Regions from separate parts of the Homo sapiens genome. Here regions 2 and 3 are each linked to region 1. The links are contacts of gene promoters, found by promoter capture Hi-C in human tissues and cell types (Jung and others, 2019). All regions are on one chromosome and are shown on one strand. The core of a region is centred on a gene start or on the middle of the fragment in contact, and the rest is flanking DNA. Distances in the headings are between cores, read along the strand shown. Region 1 holds the start of SUV39H2 (SUV39H2 histone lysine methyltransferase). Region 2 overlaps FAM171A1 (family with sequence similarity 171 member A1). Region 3 has its middle 4.5 kb from the start of MIR4293.

Evidence for each region. Contacts are between HindIII fragments. The study calls those that stand out against the background at their distance.
Region 2: a fragment that was not itself captured here is called in contact with the fragment with the promoter of SUV39H2 in region 1 in 1 of the 25 tissues and cell types used here (hippocampus).
Region 3: a contact is called between a fragment that was not itself captured here and the fragment with the promoter of SUV39H2 in region 1, in 1 of the 25 tissues and cell types used here (dorsolateral prefrontal cortex).

The regions. Positions count from the first base shown.
Region 1 is chr10:14,877,149-14,880,115 of GRCh38, forward strand. SUV39H2 (SUV39H2 histone lysine methyltransferase) reads left to right here and starts at 1,718. Exons shown (of 6, transcript NM_001193424.2): 1 at 1,718-1,771. The coding sequence starts at 1,741. It overlaps SUV39H2-DT (SUV39H2 divergent transcript), which reads right to left and starts at 1,511. Exons shown (of 1, transcript NR_186426.1): 1 at 1-1,511. RefSeq lists a silencer at 1,452-2,191. The HindIII fragment of the contact is 4,398 bases long and covers 1-2,967 here.
Region 2 is chr10:15,214,907-15,217,841 of GRCh38, forward strand. It overlaps FAM171A1 (family with sequence similarity 171 member A1), which reads right to left. Exons shown (of 8, transcript NM_001010924.2): 7 at 1,090-1,204. All of the region lies in intron 1 of FAM171A1-AS1 (FAM171A1 antisense RNA 1), which reads left to right. Among named protein-coding and RNA genes, the nearest start is that of FAM171A1-AS1, 7.8 kb to the left of the region's middle. The HindIII fragment of the contact is 7,240 bases long and covers 1-2,935 here.
Region 3 is chr10:14,386,307-14,389,310 of GRCh38, forward strand. No RefSeq gene overlaps it. Among named protein-coding and RNA genes, the nearest start is that of MIR4293, 4.5 kb to the left of the region's middle. The HindIII fragment of the contact is 4,354 bases long and covers 1-3,004 here.

The sequences.
Region 1 (2,967 bases), core at 468-2,967:
GGCCGCTCCTTGGTGGGCTCTGAAAACATACAGGAGAGGTAATGAATACAGGGGCCGGTTAGGACGGGAGGCTGTATCCAAGTCTGAAGGCATAATCCTAGATAGACTAAGCCTTAAAGGGCCTGGATGCTCTTCCAGGTGACAGGGTTGGACAGGGCCTTTTATTCCTTATCTCAAGGTAATGAGATATGGAATACAAAATTTACTAAGGACTCAAATCTTAGAAACATGTCTGAGAAATGCAGTTGCATTGAAACACACACGGACTGCAGAACAGTATTTGTATTATGATGCCGTTTGTAGCTAAATAAAGTCTGGGAGCATGAGTGTGTGTGAGGAAGTGGTGTTTCCCATCGTAGAAAATGATTAAATATTTAAAAACGAGAAGTTAAAAAGAAAATCACTCCGAAAAGGCTATTTCGTTATTTTCCTATACATTTTTTTCTTCCATAGTTAAAACTATATTTCAGGGGGATTTGTTTTGGTTTTGCTGAATACTAAAAGCTTCATGAACACCTTTTTAAGACGGCTAGACAGTATTTCATAATGGAATCAAATAATTAACTATTCCTTTAATGGTCTGCGTTCATTTCCAGTATTTCAAATTTATACATACTGCTTTGAAACGTTTATGTAATTTTTTACATGAATTTTTTAAGGAGATATCAAATGGCCTTCTGCCAGTTTTCGTTATTTGCTCTAAGATTTCTGCTTTAGGTTGTTTAGAACAATCATGGATGCAGCGTCAAGAATGGGTGGGGGAGGGGGGTGGAGACCAGGTGGGAGGCCCCTGGAGTCGTCCTGCAGCTTCCTTACTAACGTGTCCTTCTCCTCCCGGCCCCCACCCGCCACCAGGCCGAGCTCAGGAGCTTGGCAACAACATGGGAGGGGAGCTCGGGTCCCCTTACAGACCTACCCAATCCCAATTTACATTAAAGTTGAGCCCAGGAGGTCTAGTCTGCAGTGAGCCGTAATCGCGCCACTGCACTCCAGCCTGGGTGACAGAGTGAGACCTCATCTCTTAAAAAATTCCAAGTCCAGCTCCCCCACCCCCGACGATTCGTAAGCCCCTTTAAGTGAGAAGCACTGATGTGGACCGGTGGTTTCCGCTGTGCCGCACATTAGGATCAGCTGGGAGCTGGATAGCACAGGCCACACCCCACACCAACCAGTCGGAATCCCGGCGACTGCCCCAAGCCAGCGGAACCTCTCCAGCCATGCCCACGTGCAGCCGCTTCCGAAGCCCGGAGCTCTAGAGGGAGCGGTGTCGGGGGGAGACTAACCATGGCCCACGGGGCTGCGGTAGCTGCGGAACCGTACCCGACAGGCAGCGTCCCCGGCTCCCTAGGTCCCCGCTGCCCGTGTCGGATCTCGCAGTGTGCGAGTGCTGCCGAAGTAAGACGTCTCCAAAGCGCAAAGTCCTGGCCGACGTCTTCCCGAGTGAAGGCGCCAAACGGGCCTGGCGAAGGGAAGGGGGCGCCGGACACTGCCGAGGATCCGGGAGCACGCGCGCTCGCCCCGCCCCGCTCCTCGCGCTTGGGGCCGGGCCTAGCTTTGGGGCGCAGGCGCGCTGGCCGCCGCGGCGGGGGGTCGGCCGCCAGTGACGTCAGGACGCCGTGCGGGTTCCGTCCCCCAACAAGCCCCGGCCCCCAAGTCCCGCGCGGGCCGGCCAGGGGCGGGGCGTCGGGCCAGCTGAGCTATCCCGTCAGACCGCGCCAGTTTGAATGAAAGCTCTACAAGATGGCGGCGGTCGGGGCCGAGGCGCGAGGAGGTGAGGCTGGAGCGCGGCCCCCTCGCCTTCCCTGTTCCCAGGCAAGCTCCCAAGGCCCGGGCGGCGGGGCCGTCCCGCGGGCCAGCCAGATGGCGACGTGGCGGTTCCCCGCCCGCCGCGACCCCAACTCCGGGACGCACGCTGCGGACGCCTATCCTCCCCCAGGCCGCTGACCCGCCTCCCTGCCCGGCCGGCTCCCGCCGCGGAGGTGGGCACTGTCCGAGCCTGGGGCACTTCGGAAGTGGAGCGTGGCCTCTCCGCCCGCTCGGCCCGGCCCCCTCCGCGTCTCCCGTGGCGGCCTCGGGCTTCGAGGCCGCTCCCCGGCAGTCCCCGGTTGGAGGTCCGGGGGGCACGGCTGCGACTGGCTCCTTTGTGGTGGTTCGAGCGCGGCGTGCGGCATGCGCCCGGGCCTTTGAAGTGGGAGGCGGGAAGCGACGCCCGCCGGCGTGAACATGACCTTAATATCAGAGGGGGAGAGTAAATCGGGGCGCCTGTGTGCTAAGAAAGGGGATAAGCGAGGAATCCCCCCCAAGGCGGACACGCTAGGAGGTTGAGTGCCTCGTTGGAGAATCGCCCAGAAAGTGGGTATTTGAGGTTGCAGCCTCTGGCTTACGGTAACTCTTTCACCCACCGGGAGCTTGGTGTTATTTCTGTGGACGCTGGGGAATTGGGCACCGGGGAACTGGGCACCGAGCGCGCGTGGGTGTGGGCGTCGGGGGGTGTTGGTGTCGCGCACGCTTTGAGAGCCTGGAACTTTTCCGTGCGTTCCGGAATGTAAAGGTGTTTTCAAGCTCGTCTCCTCTCCGCTGGGATTATGACCTCATTATCCCTGAATTTTTCTCCTTGGAGAATGTCAGGGGTTACTGTGAACCAGCGGAAGGTGTTTGTGGTGGTCATGAACTATTTAATTTTGTCAGTGAAATCTTTTTCTGCATTACTGGAGACTGTCGAGAGATTGTCTTTCTTTTTTTAACCACGTGTTTGCAGTTTTTCATGTTCACTTTTTTTTTTTTTTTAATTTTCAAAGAGCATTTCCTTTGCGGGTTGTGTTTTGAATCCTCAACTAGATAAAAATGTTTAGGAAAAGCACACAAACACACCTTGAGTAGATAAGAGGAACCTCCTTTATACGTGATTCCCTTAATGAGGTCAGCTTAACACAAAACGTTCTCTAGTTTTTGTAGATGGAAGGGACT
Region 2 (2,935 bases), core at 13-2,512, 340 kb after region 1:
CATGCCACCATGCCCAGCTAATTTTTGACTTTTAGTTTTTTTGTAGAGATGGCCTGTGTTGCCCAGGCTGGTCTTAAACTCCTGGCCTCAAGCAATCCTCCCCCTTCAGCCTCCCAAAGTGCTAGGCCTCCATGCCTGGCCCTTATCCTTATTTTATCCTTATTAGAGTAGGATAATCGAGAGATTTCATCTTTTACTGTCTGGAGAGCCCTTTGCCTAAATGAATTAAATGTATGACATTCATTTTTCTATGACTTAAAAAAGTCAACAACTTATTAAAGAGTCTCAAACGTGACTAAAATGCTTTGCATTTTTAAAAATAAAATTTTTCCTCTATAATGCCTTTTTAAAACAGCTAAACTTAAAGGCTTTTATAAGCCAAGTTACTTATTTCAAAGGGGTTACTCAAGAGTTGACAATAAATATTCTTGCAAACTAAACAGACACGGCATCTAAATAAGAATAATTTTTTTTTTTGAGATGGAGTCTTGCTCTGTTGCCCAGGCTGGAGTACAGTGGTGCAATCTTGGCTCACTGCAACCTCCACCTTCTGGGTCCAAGCAATTCTCCTGCCTCAGCCTCCCAAGTAGCTGGGATTATAGGCGTGTGCCACCATGCCCAGCTAATTTTTGTATTTTTGGTAGAAACGGAGTTTCACCACGTTGGCTAGGCTGGTCTCGAACTTCTGACCTCAAGTGATCCGCCCACCTCGGCCTCCTAAAGTGCTGGGATTACAGGTGTGAGCCAACGTCCCTGGCCCAAATAAGAAGAGTTCTGCTTTGCCCTTCAGAGTATCATCTCTTAATCAGCGTTCAGGAATACTCTGAATAAATCAGATGACTATTGTTAAACTCTTTTTCATAACTCCCCTTCTAAGCAATGTTATCCACGCAGCATGCTTTACACATACTATTTGTTAAGTTGCAACTTAGATCACAAATGTGAGTTCTTACTTTTTCATGGGAAGAAAAAGTACTTCAATTTAGAAAAATTAAAAAAAAAACCCACCTCCATATTAATGCTTCTAAGTATCAATTGCCCAAGAAACTGTGAATTAAAAAAGATATTGCCAAAATGGTAACACTTTACCTGCAATAATATAAAAGGAGACACAGCAAAACCAAAAGTATGAAAGCCATTCCTCCTAAAATGGCCAAAAGAAACACCGTGTGATACGTGGTAATGTCCTGTGTTACAACGGGACCTAGAAGGTCAGAAAATGGCATTTAGAGTTTTGAACACCTTTAACTCAAAAGAGGGATCATTCATTGAGAACGCAGTGTCTTGTGCTTACTCTTCTTAGCTGGGGCATAGAGCAGTGGCCAGAGGAAAACGCCCTTGGATCATGCACTTGGGGTACCACCAGCATTGCATTAGTGATTAGCATGACTATTATGGAAGCTCCCACAGCCAGGAGAACTTTGAATACTCAAAGACAAGATGTGGTTACGTCAAGGGCCCCTCCTAAGCGGAGAAGTGCGCCTCACTTGGTAGCATGTGCCGCATTTGAAATACATGATCTTTTTAATTTTTTTTTTTTTTGAGACAGGGTCTCATTCTGTCACCCAGGCTGGAGCGCAGTGATACAATCATGGCTTACTGTAGCCTTGACCTCCTGGGCTGCATCAATCCTCCTGCCTCAGCCTCCAGCATAGCTGGGACTACAGGCACGCACCACCACACCTGGCTAATTTTTATAAATTTTTTTTAGAGGCAATGTTCTCACTATGTTGCCTAGGTGGGTCTTGAACTCCTGAGTTCGAGCAATCCACTGCCTCGGCCTACCAAAGTGCTGGGATTATAGGCATGAGCCACTGTGCCCAGCCATATGATCTTTTCATACAAGAAAATGAACGCATGACGATATAATGACTGGGACTCTCACCTTCAGAAAGATGGCCTATCTGGGAATTTTATATTGCAGTGAAAAAAAAAAAAAAAACCCTACAAAGTTTTATTTTCGCTTTTCCCGGGCAGTCAATCATTACCGTCTGGAGAGCCCCTAGCCCAAATGAATCAGTTTAAATGTATGACATACATTTCCTGTGACTTAAAAAAGTCAGCAACTTTTAACACTTAATACAGGTATCAAATATGACTAAAATGATATCCATCTTTAAAAACAAGATCTTTCTCTACAATGGCTTTTCAAAATAGCTAACCTTACGTGGCCAGAGATCTCTTTAGAACTTATACATAAGGTTATCAAAGATAAAAATATTTTAAGTTTATGTTGTAAAAAATCCCAAGAGGTAGCTTAACTCACATTTTATGTTCCGTAGTAGTACAAATCTATCTTAATGTTACTAACAACAGATCAGCGACAACAAAAACCTCCCAACATTCCAATATTTAGGTATTTATTGGTGTCCGAGTTTCCTGGCAGTGTATGAATACATGGGTCGAAATGAACTGGCCTCATATTATTTCAGGGTAGCATGGCTATGATTATTAAACACCACAGACACCCATTTGCTTATTTTTGATTTTTGACATTCTAAGACATAGACTTTTTAAAAAATCTTCTTAAGGGGACAAATCTCCTAATTTAAGACCTAGATAAACCCAAGATTTACCAGTTTTTGAAAACAGTGATGTTACTTAAATTCACAAGAAACACCATTCTCTTTCAGATATAATTACTTCAATGGAGTGCGAGGAGGGGGTTAAAGTTTACAAAAATTGGAAAAATAACTGACAATTAGATACTGGCTTACTTGTTCAGAGAAACAATTTTTTTTTTTTTTTGAGACGGAGTCTTTGCTCTGTCACCCAGGCTAGAGTGCAGTGGTGTGATCTCAGCTCATTGTAACCTCTGCCTCCTGGGTTTAAGTGATTCTCCTGCCTCAGCCTCCTGAGTAGCTGGGATTATAGGCGCCCGCCACCATGCCTGGCTAATTTTTTTAAGTAGAGATGGGGTTTCACCATCTTGGCC
Region 3 (3,004 bases), core at 435-2,934, 490 kb before region 1:
GTAGTCTGGTTGGGAAAGAGCCCTGGCTGGGCTGCAGGAGATGTGAACTCAGAGCCTGCCCAGCTCACTGTGCTCTGGCAAGCTACATTCTCTTTCCCTGACTCAATTATCTTACCCATAAAACGTGGCATTTGGGCTAAACAATACTGAAACTGTGTTAACCTTACAGTGACATTACTTAAACCCTGGCAGTCAAAGAGAAAGTAGAAAACGATGCTTTATATCTGTGTTGTCTCATTCAGAAGCCACTAACCACATGTGGCTACCTAGCACTTGAAAGGTGGCCCGTCCAAATTCAGATGTGTTGTAAGCACAAAACGCACACTAGACTTCAAAGATTTAGTATAAAAAATGTACATTTCTCGTTAAAAATTTTTATACTGATTTCATGTGGAAATAATATTCTGGATATATTAGGTTAAATGAAATACCCTATTAATCATTTCGCCCATTTCTGTTTACTTTTCTTAAATGTGACTACTAGAAATTCTAAAATTACACATGTGAGTTGCATTTTGGACAGCACCATTCTATGCTATTATTAGTACTGAAATTCAGCTACATACTTCAGACTATAATGCATAAATCATTGATTCTACATCCTTTCCTGAGTTATCCAAACTCATTGTCAAATGAATCCAAAAAAGGTTCACTAAAGTCGATCTAACTACAATGAAACTTCACTATGAATGGATGCCCATGTAGACATTATGCAGTTTTGTTTCATAACCAATGGGTTTTAGGTTAAAACTATTTCTGAGAAACAAAACAATTCCAGCATTGGAAAATGATAAGCCTAAAACAAACTCAGTAGAGACCAGAAAGACATAAAAAGAAAGGGGCCAGGCGTGGTGGCTCACGCCTGTAATCCCAGCACTTTGGGAGGCTGAGGCAAGCGGATCATGAAGTCAGGAGATGGACACCATCCTGGCCAACATGGTGAAACCCTGTCTCTACTAAAAATACAAAAATTATCTGGGCGTGGTGGTGTGTGCCTATAATCCCAGGTACTTGGGAGGCCGAGGCAGGAGAATCACTTGAACCAGGGAGGTGGAGGTTGCAGTGAGCTGAGATCGCACCACCGCACTCCAGCACTCCAGCCTGGTGACAGAGCGAGACAGTGTCTCAGAAAAAAAAAAAAAAGAAAGGATTTCTTTTCTATTATAGATACTGGGTAGCCCTACGTGCTCCTCTAAGCCCCAGATATAATATCTGTGCTATGGGGAAAGCAAAAAGCATATATTTTCTTTGCTTCGTTCATTTTGTTTTTTAAATTTTATTTATTTATTTTTTTGAGATGGAGTCTCAGTCTGTCATCCAAGCTGGAGTGCAGTGAAGCTATCTCAGCTCACTGCAACCTCCACCTCCAGTGTTTAAGTGATTCTCGTGCCTCAGCCTCCTGAGTAGCTAGGATTACAGGAGCCCGCCACCAGGCCTGGCTAATTTTTCTATTTTTAGTAGAGACAAGGTTTCACCATGTTGGCCAGGCTGGTCTCAAACTACTGACCTCAGGTGATCCACCTGCCTCGGCTGTGGAGGAAAAGTTAAATATTAGATTTGAACTCAGTTGAACATGGACATAACCAATGGACACCAAGTCCCAGAACAGGTTGTATGAGCCCTTTGAGGCTTTCATCCAGCACTGTTTCAGAGAAATCTTTATTTCAATCTATTCCTATATGTTAGTTAGTGAAAAACAATAGACAATCACAAGAATAAGTTGACCTTTTTGTGTTCCTTGACCACAGCAATGAAGAGCCCTCGTGACTGGACCTCATGCCAAACAACTCGCTACAAAAAGAGCTAGGTTCCCAGACTGCGCCGAAGCTTCATGAGACCTCTCCTCATCTGTGCACAGAGGAGTGGCCGACTCTGGAGCCCAGGCGGTCGCTTCCCGGTCTGGTGCTGAATCCTCCATAGTCTGGTGAGTGCAAGTATCTTTTCCCTTCTCCCCTTCCCATTGCAATTTGCTTATTATATCACTTGCTTATTATATCGTTTGCTTATTATATGGTTTGCTTATTATATCTGCATTGTCATTTACAGGGATAAAAGTTGTTCACCCTTAAAGGTATTGTGTGTGTGCCTTTTCTTCTCCTCTCACGTGTTTCCAGCACAGAACATCGGCCTCCCAAAGTGCTGGGATTACAGGCATGAGCCACCGCTCCCGGCCTGTTTCATTCATTTTAGAAATGACCAAATTGTGAGCTGAGATGAAGGTTGGGGTCTGGTAGATTTGTAGAAAGGAGAGAGTGATAACAAGTGTGGGTAAAAATAAGTGTCCGTGGAAGAAGTGAGAAATTTGAGGGAAGCAGAGAGAAACCAGGAGAGAGACCTCGGAGGTTGCTTGCAGGGTCAGCAGCGTCAACATCACCTGGGAACTGGATGGAAACACAGATTCTGGGGCCCATCCCAAAGGGTTAATATGGCGGCACTCAGCTGCTATCCAGGACTTTTTCCTGTTCGTGGAGTCTTGGAAGAACACTCCTCTAGGGCTGGGGTTTCCAAGGTGTAGATCTCTCAAAGCTTTTCTTGAGAAATCCTGAAGCCAGTTATCGTCCTCAACTCTACATCAATGTCCCACCTCCATAGATCACCTGGAATTATTAGATTGGTGCAAACGTAATTGCGGTTTTTGCATCGTTGGAATTTGACATTTGATATTGGATACATTCTTAAATAAATGTGGTTATCTTATACATCATTTTAATGGGCATTTCTTGCTTTATGTTTTTTGGCTAATGACTTATTACTTGCTGTTTATTTTATGTTTATTTTAGACTGTGGAAATAATGTTAGACAAAAAGCAAATTCAAGTGCTTTTCTTATCCGAGTTCAAAATGGGTTGTAAAGCAGCGGCGACAACTTGCGACATCAACAATGTATTTGGCCTACTGTACTAAAAAACATATAGTGCAGTGGTGGTTCAAGAAGTTTTGCAAAGACGAGGAGAGCCTTGAAGATGAGGAGTGTCGTGGCCAGCCATCGGAAGTTGACAAAGACC